Linked DNA regions of Homo sapiens: all the other regions are linked to region 2. The links are contacts of gene promoters, found by promoter capture Hi-C in blood cells and fetal thymus (Javierre and others, 2016). All regions are on one chromosome and are shown on one strand. The core of a region is centred on a gene start or on the middle of the fragment in contact, and the rest is flanking DNA. Distances in the headings are between cores, read along the strand shown. Region 1 holds the start of ENPP2 (ectonucleotide pyrophosphatase/phosphodiesterase 2). Region 2 holds the start of DSCC1 (DNA replication and sister chromatid cohesion 1). Region 3 overlaps LOC105375730 (a long non-coding RNA gene).

What was found. The method cuts DNA at HindIII sites, captures the fragments that hold promoters and counts their contacts. A CHiCAGO score of 5 or more calls a contact.
Region 1: a fragment that was not itself captured here is called in contact with the fragment with the promoter of DSCC1 in region 2 in 1 of 17 cell types (fetal thymus); the score reaches 6.9 in fetal thymus.
Region 3: a fragment that was not itself captured here is called in contact with the fragment with the promoter of DSCC1 in region 2 in 14 of 17 cell types (monocytes, fetal thymus, activated CD4 T cells and 11 more); the score reaches 15.0 in monocytes.

Annotation. Positions count from the first base shown.
Region 1 is chr8:119,637,391-119,640,391 of GRCh38, reverse strand. It overlaps ENPP2 (ectonucleotide pyrophosphatase/phosphodiesterase 2), which reads left to right and starts at 1,553. Exons shown (of 25, transcript NM_001040092.3): 1 at 1,553-1,644; 2 at 1,865-1,967. The coding sequence starts at 1,612. RefSeq lists a silencer at 1,338-1,437. The HindIII fragment of the contact is 849 bases long and covers 1,188-2,036 here.
Region 2 is chr8:119,854,463-119,857,669 of GRCh38, reverse strand. DSCC1 (DNA replication and sister chromatid cohesion 1) reads left to right here and starts at 1,776. Exons shown (of 9, transcript NM_024094.3): 1 at 1,776-2,056. The coding sequence starts at 1,875. LOC105375728 (a long non-coding RNA gene) reads right to left here. Exons shown (of 4, transcript XR_928590.3): 2 at 2,868-2,995; 3 at 1,791-2,264. RefSeq lists a silencer at 1,625-1,684 and an enhancer at 1,795-2,104. The HindIII fragment of the contact is 2,867 bases long and covers 1,267-3,207 here.
Region 3 is chr8:120,089,082-120,092,164 of GRCh38, reverse strand. All of the region lies in intron 1 of LOC105375730 (a long non-coding RNA gene), which reads right to left. Among named protein-coding and RNA genes, the nearest start is that of COL14A1, 34 kb to the left of the region's middle. The HindIII fragment of the contact is 2,795 bases long and covers 323-3,083 here.

The DNA of each region.
Region 1 (3,001 bases), core at 363-2,862, 220 kb after region 2:
ATCATGTCTGGCTTGTATCTTGAAATTTAACATAAATTATAGGAAAATCTTTCATGGAGTTAACATCTTTTATAAGCCTTGCTAAATACCCTACTCCAAATTTGTTCAGTATGGCATACAGACAAAAGCAAGAGGCTTACATATAAAAATGTATAAGCCTGTCCTCTTTGCAACAGTGCAAAACTAAAAGGATTTTAGAAAGGCAATTAACAGTTTGGCAGTATGTGTATTTTCTTTTTTTCAATTAGATATTACTAGATTCTAAGAATCTGTAATGAAACCCAGGCCTACTGTACAACCCCCTATAAACAAGTTTTTGCTTTTGTGCTATCATGTTTTATTTGAGCAGAGCCACTACTCTGTTACTAATTTGTTGCATGGTAAGTCTCGTATTTGTTTACGCACGAACACATGTGCTGCGGAAGAAAAGATGGTCACTGGACCTGCTGAGGAAGAGGCCAAAAACAAATCTTTTTCCCTCATTTGAATCCTGAAGGCATGTAATATTTAAACAACTTTCAGATTTAGAGCCCTTGATTTTTTCTTTTGAAAGTGTGCTGGTTGCCAAATTGCTTAGTAAAGAAACTTTAGTACCCACAATAGCCTCAAAGGACACAGTATTTGGTGGCTACATTTAACCAAGAAATAACTAGGGAAACAATTCTTGACATTTCAATTCTTGCTGCCATTGAGATTTCCTTCCTAAATTCAATTGCTAATAAAGCTTCCCATGCCATCCCCTTCCCCCACCCATCTGCCTCTCAAAAACCGCCCCCTCCTCCGCCCCGCCCGAAACAAGCTGACAGTCTTTACGGGAAGAAGAGGCAGAGACTGAAGTTATTTTGTCCGTCCTCCCAGGGCAGAAGGACTTTATGCTGCGTGGCTGGCATTTCCAGTATTTTGATAAAAGTTACTTCTCTAAACTTGAACCACAGCATGGGGAAAATAATGTTATCTTTTATGTTAGTTACAATTTTGCGAAATTTCATCATGAGAAACTTTCAAGGAGGCAGAAGTAGCTGAGAATGTGATACTAGGGACAGGGTCGCTCAAACTGCCAGCAAAATAAATAGATGGGAAAGACAGGAACGTTATTAGGTTTATAAATGATAAAACTTTCCTTGCTTAAAAAAATAAAGTGGTGAGGTTGACGCCATTGAATGACTGCATTGTAAACCTTAAAAGCTTAAAGCTGGTGGAAAGCCCTTGCACAGCCCTGTTTTCATTTTTATCGGATGAAATGCATTTGGTTTCTTTTTGACAAACCATGTTTTTGTGAGGAAAGGAAAATGAACATGCACTGTTATGGGCCACGGCAATGTAACAAACCCTCCTGTTGCCAGAGGATACCACATGAAAGTGTCTGTGGGTTAGGGGAGGGACCTGTAAGGGGGCGGGGATAAGGGGGATGATAGCTTAAGCCTCTTAGGCTCAGAGCTGCGATTTGTGAACACCCTGTGATGTAATCAAGCTCTGGACAAATCAGAGGAGTCTGTCAACCTCCCAGGTGGGATTGCTTATAGTTAATAGACTAAACCCAGAGCCTCAAAGCAGTGCACTCCGTGAAGGCAAAGAGAACACGCTGCAAAAGGCTTTCCAAGAATCCTCGACATGGCAAGGAGGAGCTCGTTCCAGTCGTGTCAGGTGGGAGAACGGAGGAATGACGGGGGACATGCTTGATCTTCAGAATCAGTGACTGATTGGCATTTTCCTTTTTGTTGTGCAAATTAAGATAGCACCTTATTATGCATTTTGGAAGTGGTAGGATTGGGTGTTGATATTGAAGCCATTTGAATCACCTTTGTGTAATTTGATTTAGTCTTCTCCAGCTGTATTTGACAACTTGGTCTCTTTATTCTCTTAGATAATATCCCTGTTCACTTTTGCCGTTGGAGTCAATATCTGCTTAGGATTCACTGCACATCGAATTAAGAGAGCAGAAGGATGGGAGGAAGGTCCTCCTACAGGTAAGTGTCAAAACTATTTGCATTTTCAATTTTTTAAAAATATTACATACGGGGTAATCAATGTAAGCTTATTAAAATATTTATTTTTAATACAATCTTGCAGTATAACTAAGTTAGTCCTAAATTTCTCTGGGTAAAACCACCTATGTGTATAATTCAGGTGGGAGAGTGTGGTTTTCATTAGAGAACATTTATGATTGTTTCATAACTGGCTATTTCCATTTTTGTACTCAAATTTGTAAATGTTAGGATACAATTAAAACTCTTGTTCACAGACAAGGCTAAAGTAGAAGTGGTGAGAACAGGTGTTGGTTTAATATTGGAGCTACCCAAATCTGATTTGCTGTCACATGATATAGGATGTAGTATTTGCCACTAGAAAGTTCTGATGTAGGAAAAAGGAATGGAAGTAAAAAAGGCAGTGAGCTATCTTTATGAAACTTCAGAAATTTAGGACTTTAAGATTTACTTAAAATTGGAAAAACATAAAAGAGAGGAGGTGTTTAAAGAGTTTTCAGGATTGATTTGTCCTCATTGTGTGTCCTTATGGCAAAGGAAAGGTAAGTTTTAATAGTGTACCTTGACTTAAATAATAGAACCAAAGTGAAAGAGTTTCTTTTTACAATACACTACACCATAAGTAGTGTTCCCATACAGTGTTCTTATAAAGGAGCTCCTTGTGCAGACAGAGGGGGCTTAACTGACCAGGTCTTAAGCAATGAGTTGGTTAATTTCCTGGAAATTGGAGCTGCTGATGGTTTTAGAAATAAAAAATTACATTTTAAGTAATGGGCACTCTAGGGAACAATATTTTCTGGACTTTTCCTGACATTCCAGCATGTTTGTCTGTCTTCCTGTGAATTTTGTGTTTCTCTGTATGTCTTGATCTGATTGTTATGAAAGACCATCACTTGCCTCTGTTTAGCCAGCTTGAAATTTTATTATCAACCGGGTTAGGACACATACATTGATGGAATACTAAATCTTCCTTACATCAATTAAGTTACTTTTGAATCATGCCAGTAGGTTGAAAG
Region 2 (3,207 bases), core at 527-3,026:
TGTTCATTTTTTTACCTGATAAAGAATATTTTTTTCCTGCTACCAGATGAATGATTAAGCCAGCTTCAATCGTTTTTTGAAAAGGTACAGAAAATTTCTTACTTTAGAAAAACATATTAACATAATTTTAAAGAATGAATTAATAAAAACTATCATCATTTTGTCTTATGAGAGGAACACAGGTCCAGCTCCCTGACAGAATATCAAATTAATGGCAATAATTTCATACCATTAATTGGAAATTAAATTCATAATGATTAATACATAAAAACAAAAAGAACTGCTGCCATTTATTAAGCAGCCATGCATTTTAGAATGTACATCTTAAGAATGTAGGTCTTATGTGCTTTTTTATCGATAAGGAAGTTGTACTCAGAGAAATTAGGTAAATTGCCTTAGGTCACAAAGTTCTGAAGAGAGTTGGGATTCGCAGCCATGCCTGTCTGATGTAAATGTCAGGGTTCTAGTTGACACTGCTTCTAGTTGTAGGGAATGTTTCCCATTTAATAGAGCAACTACAATGGTTGATTCCCTTCAATAATAACTTCTTATCAGGCAACCACTGTCACATTCAGGATTTCATTCCACCGAATTCCTATGCATTCAAATGTAAAAGAGGCTAGTGAAGAAGTAGGTCACATGAACCAATCTTTCCACCACCAACGAAAGCACTGCCCAGACTCCTGGGATGCCCTACTCTGGTATTTTCGTATCATTTTACCCAAGAATTGAAAAAAATGTCTGCTCAGATCCTTTGAATTCAACACCTTACCCACCACTTTCTTTCACTTCAAGCAAGGTCTGATTTGCACTAACTAGTAGGAGGTCACCATCTCTTAAGTGATTCCTCCCAGACTATTTTAGCTCTCAGGGACAGCCAGGGCCCTCAACGATTCCCTAAGCATCTCTGGGAAAGTTTACACATTACGCTGTTACAAGCAATTCATGTATGTGTGCATAGTGAAAACCTTTTCTCTTAAAACTCTTAATACTGAAGTTCCCCAAACCTTTGGAAAATGTACAAGTCACAGATGCTCCTGTGACTTGTTTTTCCCTTCGGGTGCGTCCTCAACCTTGCTTAAATAAACCTCTATTGAACGAGACCTGCATCAGTCACTTTTCGGTTAACACTAGGTATTCAACGAATAGACTAGTCCCGCCGTTGTCTCCAGATATGATGGTGCCCTGACCCAAAGAAGCGAGATACTCCTTCCCAGGGCCTCGCTCCCGAGCATGGGTTATTTGCACAAAACCCCGCAGGAAGCTTTTAGAGCCACAGTCGGCTAGGCTGGAGTCAGACTCTGTTACCTCCTGACTCTGCCATCACGAGCAAGGAGCCTGCTTCCTCATTGGCAAAAGGGAATGACCAAGGCACCACCTTACAGGGTTGTGGCAACGGGCTCATGGAATTATACATGCCAAGTGGTTATCACAGGGCCCGCCACTGGCGGAAGGTGAGACAATGTGGACGGCGAGGAAATGGGAGCATCGGCTGGAAACCAGGGACGGAGATCGGGGATGGGGGGCGGGCAAGGGGACAGCGGAAAGGGTGGGCGAGGGATCCGTGTCCCAACCCGCCGAGTCGCAGCTCTGCCCCTGCGAGCTTCCGCCGAGACCGCCCCCCGGGAAGCCGCGTTTCCTTCCTGCAGTCGCGGTCCGGCGTGGGGCACGGAGGGGCTCGCGCTCCCAGAAGCCGGCAGGCCTTCCCGCGGGCGGGCCCGCAGCGCGCTCCGCCCCGGAAACACGCCCATGGCCGCCTTGGCGCGCTTTCAAACGCTCAGGTTTCCTACCTTCCGGCTGCTTGGGAACTTCTTTCTTGCCCGCCAAGCCCGCAGCCACCCGGGCGCGGCGGGACTCCTAGACCCGGCGCTGCGATGAAGAGGACCCGCGACGAGGTGGATGCGACGCTGCAGATCGCCAAGCTGAATGCGGCCGAGCTGCTGCCGGCGGTGCACTGCCTGGGCTTCGGCCCTGGGGCCAGCGGCGCTGCAGCCGGCGACTTCTGCCTGCTGGAGCTGGAGCCCACGCTGTGCCAGCAGCTGGAGGATGGACACAGGTGAGCCCTGGTCACGCGGCGCCCCCAGCCTCTGGCCGGCCACGTTATTTTCTCAGCGGGGAAAGTCGGGATAAGAAAACAGGGCCAGAGAGATGCACTGACCTGGCCGGGGGCTCATAGCAAGCTGCCTGTTCCCGAGGAGTCCACGCCTCCGGTGGGCCGTCCAGTTAGCTGCACTGCGGTGATGAGTAGCACTGGTCCAGCTGACCTTGGAGGCATGTGTCAGCGGGAGCAAGTCAGGAAATACTAATACAACCTCCGTGAAGTTTTTGAAGAGTTACCGGTGATTACAGGGACTCTACAGGACACCTGTCACTCTACCTTAAAATACAGTGGTGATACCCAATGTTTATAGAACTCTTGCCTTCCACTTATATTTATTTTACTCAGATGATAGATAGGAAGTGCTGGGAATCAGCTTACAGACTTGGTAATTGGGTGAGACCCCTACCCACCCCGAAGCAAACTTGCTTAGTAGGGATCTGAAGCTGTTTCTAATTCCAGGTCAGATACAAACTTGCTGCAAGATCATTGATTAGAAGTCGAAGTTGAGGTAGTTTTTTAAAGGCAGTCTTGAGAAGTCTAGAGAATCGTTATATCCCTCCACCCTGTGCAGCCCCAGCTCCTGCAAAATAGGGAGCTCCAGCTTGATTCTCTTTTGCACAATTGGTCCTCCGACACCTATATTTTATTAGGCTATTTTTTCTCTTTTTTCTTAATGGAATCCTTTAGGCTGTCTTTCAGTTTTCGTACTTTGCCCACCAAAGAGTGTTAGAGTAAACTGGCCATTCTTCAGATACCTGCTATATACCTCAAAGTACCTTTAAGGGAACTGAAAGAACTTCACTAGTCTGTTTCCATCCCGGTTCAGTTGGTGGAGAGTTGAGAAAGGAACTCAGGTGTGAGGACTTTCTCTCGGTCCAGTTCTAGTTAATCTAGCTGGCAAAAACAAAACAAAACAAAAACAAAAAAATAAAAACAGGCCCTGGAAACGTGTGTTTTTAATTTTGGGGTGTAGGGAGTGATGGTATAAACAAAATATTTCAAAGTGGGGGTAGTGCAGTTAGAGAAATAAATGTTAAAGACTAGGTACTTGGGCCTATTAAGCATTATTAGCATTAGGAATCTAAAAAACCTTTTATTCTTTTTAC
Region 3 (3,083 bases), core at 471-2,970, 230 kb before region 2:
GCATCTCGGAGTAGCCTACGGAAGAGAGAATGGTGAGGAAATCTACTCACTCTACTACTCTATCTCTCTCTTTTTTTTCCCATTGGTTATGTTTCACTCTGTAAGAAGCTAACTCCTCTGTACTTCTGTGTTGTGTCTAACCCCTTGGCAGTTGCTGAGGAAGTCAGAGCCCTGCTGGATTAGTCCGTTTGTGTTACTATAAAGGAATAGCTGAGACCAGGCAATTTATAAAGGAAAAAACATTTATTTTGGCTTATGGTTCTGCAGGCTGTACAGGCAGCATGGTGCTAGCATCTGCTTCTGGTGAGGGTCTCAGGAAGCTTACAATCATGGTGGAAGGTGAAAGGGGAACCAGAGTGTCACATGGCAAGAGAGAGAGCAAGAGAGAGGGAGGAGCTGCCAGGCTCTCTTAAACAATCAGATCTCACATGAACTCATGGAGTGAGAACTCACCTCATTATTGCGAGGACCACACCAAGACATTCATGAGGAACCCGCCCCCATGACCCAAACACCTCTCACCAGGCTCCCCTCCAACATTGGATGTCACATTTCAACATGACATTTGGAGGGGACAAAACATCCAAACCATATCACCTGCCCTGTTTTGTGGTGTTTCATCCCAGTCTCAAAATGGAAGACCAACCTGGCCGAGGTGAGGTACCACTAGGAGAGAGAAAATTAGAGGTGACTGAGGATAGTAGTAAGAAAGCGTGAAAGGTCTGGGGCTCAGTGCACCTCAAGTGCTCTCACTGGACTCGTCTCAACCCTTAGTTCATGACACACTACTATCATTGTTCCGTACATGTTCACTTTTTTCTTTTCTTTTTTTTTTTTTTTTTTGAGGGGGAGTCTCGCTCTGTCACCCAGGCTGGAGTGCAGTGGTGTGGTCTTGGCTCACTGCAACCTCCTCGTCCGGGGTTCAAGTGATTCTCCCACCTTCTTCAGAGTAGCTGCGATTACAGGTGTGTGTCACAACACCTGGCTAATTTTGTATTTTTAGTAGAGATGGGGTTTCACCATGTAGGCCAGGTTGGTCTCGAACTCCTGACCTAAAGTGATCCACCTGCCTCAGCCTCCCAAAATGTTGGGATTACAGGTGTGAGCCACCACGCCCGGCCTCACTTTTTCTTACTATGATGTAATATGATAAAATGATACCTGTGAACTTATCACCAAGCTGAGAACTAGAATACTGATAATAAATTACAAATATATATCTACACTCATGGATATGTACATAAATATACATACACATATACATAAGTAGATACATATACATGCTGTATTTTTAGTTTTAGTTATTTTGAACTCATTTTTTAATTCAATATTGAAGGATTTATTCCTATCAATACATGTAGTTATAATTGATTTTCAATGATACATAGCATTATTTGTGGGACTGAATTGCATCTATGTTCTCATTATCTAAGCAATGGGTTTCAGATTGTTGTCCTTTTTTTTTCTTGTGAATAGTGATGCCAGTACAGGAATGGGAATGCTGGTTCATAGGGGTTAGGAATATTCAACCTCATGAGATACTGCCAAACTCCTTTCCAGTGTGATTGTGCCAATTTATTCTTCCTCCAGCAATTTATAAGAGATGTAAGAGATTTTGATGATAACATCTTTCTAAAGGTCGGTTTTGTCGGGCTTCTTAATAATTGCCAATTATAATGAAATAAATATGAAATGAAATTAAATAAATGTATCTCGGTCTCACAGTGGAATGCTACATATTATTAAAAATCAATTATATATGTAATCAAATATATATACATACATAATGAATAGGTGTAAAATGATGTATCATTAAGACATAGTAAAATGGCCTTATTTGGCCCAGCAGAGATAGAACTCTTTGACTTGGAATGAATGGACAAGGAAATAAATTTCTTTGTGATAACAGCAATAGTAGCTAACAGTTAGTTACTGGCTGCCTGATACAGCCAGGTATTCTAATTTTATATATAAGGTTAAAGTAAATATGTGAGAAATATTTTTATTAGATTCATTTTACTAAAAAAAAAAACTGGGGTTCAGAAAGGTTAAGTTGCTTGAGCAAAACCTTAATTTAAAGCTACTTCATGTTAGGAATTAGGATTCAAAACTCAGTCAGTCTAGCTCTACATGCACAATGACAAGAGCAAGTATGACAGTTTGAATCATGTAAAGGTTTCTTAGGGGCAACGCATCTATAAATTTCTGCCAGCCCTGTAGGATTTCACTAGCAAAAGAGAGAGTAGAGGAAAGAAACAAGTTATACCACTAGGTCAGAAAAATAATTTTTAAAAAGAATGTTTTTATGTTTATGTTTTCTTTAACTTCTGTTATCTTCAGTTTTAGGACAGTCTTTCAAAAATGTCAGCCTCTCAATCCCTCAATTTTGGCCAGTGAATTCTGAGTGGAAGTAAACATGTGTTATTTCTGAGTCAGGACAGTGTGAGAGACCAGATAGGTCAAGACCAACGTGATGATGGGAATGTTCCATAATCCACACTACAAAATATAGTAGCCAGTAGCCACAAGTGGAAAAAATTATCAGGCACTTGAAATGCAGCTTGTGCAAAGAAGGGACTGAAATTTCCATTTTCTTTGATTTTAATTACTTTTGAATCAAATCTAAGTAACTGCAGGTGGCTACAAGCTGTGTAAAGCACAGTCCAGTTTCTAGGGTTTTCTTTTTGTTGCGATGACCAGTGTTGCTCCATCTAGCGGTTGGTCCATCAGCCTGAGAAGGGGCGACTCAGAACAGCGCTTCCCAGCTGATGGTTGATTTGAATGTGTGTTAAAAAGAAATAAACTTCTGATGTTTTAAGCCACTGAGATTATTTTCCTGCAGTAAAACAACCTATCCTACGAGAGACAGGGGTAACTAGATAAGAGCTTTAATGGAAGGGTTGGAATTGAGTTTCCATTGCCCACTGTGGCGCAGGCATGGGTGGCCATGTGTTCCACGCACAGACACGGCCCTTCTAATGGCACCCTCCTGACACCTGCACTGTGGCCTCTCCAGGCCGGGGCACTACCCTAAAGAGTGAGAATAAAGCACGTAGTGTTGGGTATCACATAACCTAATTTGA